Regions from separate parts of the Homo sapiens genome. Here region 2 is linked to region 1. Evidence: promoter capture Hi-C in human tissues and cell types (Jung and others, 2019). All regions are on one chromosome and are shown on one strand. Each heading gives the region's core, a stretch centred on a gene start or on the middle of the fragment in contact. The rest is flanking DNA. Distances are from core to core; before and after follow the strand shown. Region 1 has its middle 19 kb from the start of OR7A17. Region 2 holds the start of CASP14 (caspase 14).

What was found. Contacts are between HindIII fragments. The study calls those that stand out against the background at their distance.
Region 2: a contact is called between the fragment with the promoter of CASP14 here and a fragment that was not itself captured in region 1, in 2 of the 25 tissues and cell types used here (lymphoblastoid cells and mesendoderm cells).

Annotation. Positions count from the first base shown.
Region 1 is chr19:14,903,948-14,906,746 of GRCh38, forward strand. It overlaps the pseudogene OR7A3P. Among named protein-coding and RNA genes, the nearest start is that of OR7A17, 19 kb to the left of the region's middle. The HindIII fragment of the contact is 6,964 bases long and covers 1-2,799 here.
Region 2 is chr19:15,048,104-15,050,803 of GRCh38, forward strand. It overlaps CASP14 (caspase 14), which reads left to right and starts at 1,377. Exons shown (of 7, transcript NM_012114.3): 1 at 1,377-1,542. The HindIII fragment of the contact is 29,360 bases long and covers 1-2,700 here.

The DNA of each region.
Region 1 (2,799 bases), core at 33-2,532:
TGGAGGTAACACAGATGTCTACAAAGGACAGGTTAGAGAGGAAGAAGTACATGGGGGTGTGGAGGTGGGAACCAGAGCAGATGGCCAGGATGATGAGCAGGTTTCCAAACACAGTTGTCAGATACATGGAGAGGAAGAGTCCAAACATAACGGGCTGCAATTCTGGTTCCTCTGAAAGTCCCAGAAGAAGAAATCCTAAAATCCTCGTACCATTCTCTGGTTCCATGTGGTTGAGGTGACTACCAGTCAGAGAAAGAGAACATGACCAATTTTTACTCAAAAGGGCATCACTCACATTGTTGAAAGACAACCAGTTATATTTTGCAGCCAAGACATTAATTTCTATATTTTGTGTATGGAACTTTTCCCAGTTTCTGTGCTCCTCAGAGCTGTCTCTGATTGAAAATTCTTGTGCTATTCTCAACCTTTCCCTAAGAGGTTGTATATTCTTTAATGAGAAATTCTTCTACGCACTTGTGTAATATTGATTGTATGCTGACCATGTTCCAGGAACTGTCTAGGTAATGAGTGTAGGGTGCAGAGAAACTGATAACCTTACTATCCAATGATGGAGAAAGACAATGAGCTGATAAAGACATCATCATCTGTTGCGTTAGATGGTGCTTAGAAGAAAATGAAAGCACATTAAAGAGAATGGAGAGGGGTTGCTATTTTTTATGAGTGTACAGGCAAGACCAGCAGACAAGGTGACATTTGAACAGAGACCTCAAGGAAGAGGCGGTTGGGAGCCCAGAGGATATTTGGCGAAGTCTGTGCCTGACAGAGGGAATGACTAATGCAAAGGCCTGAGGAAGGTGCTTGTTTCGGAAAATCAAGGCTCAAATAGAAGCCAGCGTGTTGAGGGCAATGAGAAGGAGGGAGAGTGATCAGAGATGGTGTCAGGAGTATTGAGGAACCAGGTGGTCTCCCTGCTGCTGTTGAAACTTCAAGACACTGACAGCCTCGTCTCCCCATGTGGTTCTGAGCCCTCTATTAATGTGGCCCCCTAAGGACGTAAACAGGGCAGCAAATTCCAGCCCAAAAGCTTCCCATGCACATGTAAATGTGGGGCTCCATTTTATATCATCACTTTGTGCCTGGTATTTAACAAAATACATGAGAATTTGCTGAATAAACAAAGAGATGCATGAAATAGGCATGATGTACACAGGTGGTTGATGAGAGACTGTGACGAAAACAGCTTCCTCGTTTCTGGCAATGTTCAATCCTGGTTATAGACCCCGATGCCCAGAATAATTCATAATTAATAAAAGTGATATCTTTATAGGGTCAAGACATCTTACAGATTGAAGACCCCAAGAGAAAATGAAGAAAGGGAATAAACCCACACTTCACAAAAGGAATCACACAAAGTCCAACAAAAGCGGGGGGCGGTTAAAGATGCAATTGTGAAAGACATGTGTAAATTGTAGTAAATGCAAAGCAATGTATGTAAAAAACTTGGCATGTCTCATTTTTGTTCTTAAATGAATGGTTATCACTGGTGATGAGATGAGACTGATGTTGCTCTTCCACCTCTCATTTACCTGTTTTGTAATGTGAAACATCTATCATCACAAAAAAAAGTTTGGAGTTTTGCATCTACTCTGTACCTGCTGTTGGACCTTGAAAAGCCTATAAAGTCATTCTAAATTTTTAAAAATTTTTTATAAATACATAATAGTTGCACATATTTATGGGGTACATGTGATACTTTGATATAAGCATACAACGCATAATGATCAAATATGGGTAACTGGCATACCTGCCCTCTCAAACATTTATCATTTCTTTGTATTGGAAACACTCGTATCTTCTCTTCTAGCTATTTGGAAATATATAATAAATTATTAAGTATAGTCATTCTATTGTGCTGTGGAACAGTAGATCTTATTCCTTTCATCTAACTGTAGAACTTATTCCTTTCATCATCAAAAAGCATACACATAGACCAATGGAACAGAAGAGTAAACCCAGAAATAAATTCATGCATTTACAGCCAACTCATTTTTGACAAAGGTGCCAAGAACACACATTGGAAAAAGACAAGCTCTTCAATAAATGGTGGTAGGAAAACTGGATATCCACATTCAAGAGAAATGGAATTAGATCCCTATCTGTCACTACATAGAAAAATAATTTTAAAATAGAAAAAAAGACATAAATGAAAGGCTCAAAACTATGAGATTCATAGAATAAAACATAAGGGAAATTCATGGCATTGATCTAGGCAAGTAATTTTTTTGCATTTTTAAATTTATTATTGCTATTTTTAAAAATTGTCATTTTTATTGTGGGTACATAGAAGGCATGTATATTTCTGGAGTACATGGGATGTTTTAATACAGCTATATGATTCATATCAATCACATCAGGATAACTGGGGTATCCATTGCCTCAAGCATTTATCAATCCCTTGTGTTAGAAACATTCCAATTCCACTCCTTTAATTATTTCAAAATATACAATAAATTATTGTTGACTACAATCCCCTTGTTGTGTTATTAAATATTAGATCTTGGCCAGGCACGGTGGCTAATACCTCTAATCCCGGCACTTTGGAAGGCTGAGGCAGGCAGATCGCTTGAGGTCAGGAGTTCGAGACCAGCCTGGTCAGCATGGTGAAACCTGTCTCTACTAAAAATACAAAAATTAGCCAGGCGTGGTGGTGCATGCCTGTAATCCCAGCTACTCGGGAGGCTGAGGCACAAGAATCGCTTGAACTCAGGAAGCAGAGGTTGCAGTGAGCTGAGATCATGCCACTGCTCTCCAGCCAGGGTGACAGAGCCAGATTCCATC
Region 2 (2,700 bases), core at 127-2,626, 140 kb after region 1:
AATAGGGTTTGAGGGTGCTTATGGGATAGAAAACGGGGTGATCTAAAGTACGGAGAAAGGTGACTGGCAGGTAGGGAAGGTGAGGTAATCAGAATTTCTGAGCAAGCATGGTTGAGCTACATGGCTTTAGATAGGACATTTGTGCAAAAAATAGCATTTAGCATGATCTGAAGGTGGAGTTTACGGCCCTCTGATATCAGCTACCCACATAGGTGCAGTTGAAGGGTCAGTGATCTCCACTGGCTTAAACTAAACAAGAGCTGCCTCCTACCTAGTTCCTGAAAAACAACTTTAAGCACCCATTACTATAGTGTCCCACAGACAAAAATGTTATCTGTAAGGAAGCCAGTGGGAGTTTAGTTATGCATTATTTGGCTACGTGACTTGCTAGTGGCGCTTTTAAGATCAACTATAAGTAAGCAATTAAAAGTAAGTAAGCAATTAAACGCAAGGCAGATTAAGTCTGGAGGGCTTAATCAGGTTCGCCTTTGGTTTCACTATTAACATAAGAAATAAAATGAAACAAAATGGCTGAAAAATAATAAGAGGAGGAGGAAGAGAGGAATCATCATGATGCATCAGTTAAGGCAACTGGGCTGGAACATTTTAGGGGTTGTTTGTTTGTTTTTATATTTAAGACAGAGTCTTGCTCTGTCACCCAGGCTGGAGTGCAGAGGCACAATCTTAGCTCGCTGCAGCCTCAAACTCCTAGGCTCAAGCCAGCCTCCTACCTCAGCCTCCTGAGTAGCTAGGACTATAGGTATATGCCATCATTTTTATTATTATTATTATTTTAGTGACAGGGTCTCACTATGCCCCGGCTGGTCTCAAACTCCTCACCTCAAGCGATCCTCCTGCCTTGGCCTCCCAAAGCGCTGGGACTACAGACGTGACCCACCACACCTCACCCCTTATAGGGTTGAATGCCAACTGTGCCAATTGCTGACCTTGGGCAGTCATTTCACCTCTATGAGCCTCAGTTTCTCCATCTGCAAAATGGGAGCAAAAATACTGATCTGTCTAGACTCTTGAAGACTCGATGAGATAATAACTAAGTGAAGTCGGTGTTATCTACACAGTGGAAGGTGAGATGAATAAACTAGGCATAATGATGATGGTAATAACCAGATGGGCTGGCTATGGGATGGGGGTTGGGAGAGGTTGTGGCTGGGCTGGCACAGACATCTGACTCATTTAGACTCTCTGCCTAGGCCACCTTTGCCAGAGGGAGTCCCCTCAGCCTTGCGATCACTCATCCCATTGGCGTTGGCTCCATTTCCACACCACAGCTGTGTGCCAAGGGTGTGTCATGAGGTTTCTTGAGTGACAGAAAACTCACCGACAATAAAGGGCCAGGTGATTGTGCCACCCGATTCATAGACCAGGCTTCTCAGGAGAAACCCCGGGAGATTCCACACTGTCAGCCCCTTCTCCAAGATCAGTACGTGGGCCTGACTCCTCCTCGGTGCCCAGCTCAGTATTGGCAACTAGGAGAGTAGTGAGATTGAACTTGGCCTTGAGGAACAGCTGCCTCTAGAGTTGGTAAGTGATTTGGTGGATATTAGCCTCTCTCTCTCTCTCTCTCTCTCTCTCTCACACACACACACACACACACACACACACACACACGCACATACACACATACGCTCCCTCTCCCTTCATGAATTAATGCTCTGGCCAGTTTTGGCAGAATGGAAGAAATTTCCATCCATCCCCTCTTTCTTTTCATCTGTTCATTTTTTTCTTATTTGTTTACTCAGCAAATTCTCTCCAACACCACCTCTGTGCTCCCTGCCACACTGTTGGCCATGATGGAGACAGAGATAATGAAGTCAGGCTTTCAGTCCTGAAAACTGAGCTGCCAGTTCAGCCATGAGAGTAAGAATCAAAAACACTGCTGTAATTCAAGTAGGAGCAAGCAGAGCTGTGAGAGTCCAGAGAAGGAAGAGGAAAGTTCCAGGAGGTCAAGAGGGATCCTAAAACCTACCTGGGTCACCATTGCTGTTAAGCACCTAGAGCTCTCCCCAGGTCCTTTGCGGATGGGAAAATCGAGTCTCAGAGAGGAGAGTGAGATGCCGAAGGTCACACAGCTGGGAAGGGACTGAGGCAGGATTCGGTTCTGGCTCCAGGGCTATGCTCCTTCCACTTCCTCCCTCACAATCTTTGGCTCCTCTTTCGTCACAGCACTTGCTGTGTGTGTGTGTGAGTGTGTGTGTGTGAGAGAGAGAGAGAGAGAGAGAGATTTAATATTCATTTCTGTCACAGACTAGAGCTACAGAAGGACAGAAAGTCAGGGAGCATGTCTGTCTTACTTAATGGATTCTAAGTGCATAACACATAATAGATACCCAGAAAATATTTGCTGGGTAGGTGGGTGGGTGGGTGGATGGATTGATGGATGGATGGATGGATGGGTGGGTGGGTAGATGGATAAGTAAATAGGTGGATGGATAGATGGAAGATAGAGATGATGGATGAAGGAATGGATAGAAGGAGGGCTAGATGGAGGGATAGTTGGAAGATAGAATAGATGGAGGGATGGAAGACAGAGAGAGATAATGGATGAATGGATGGATGGATGGATGAATGAATGAGTGGTTGGATGAATAAGTGGATGGATAGATAGATGGATGGGTAGATAAATGGGTTGATGGAAGAATGAATGGGTATATGGGATGACTGATTAATAGATGGGTAGAC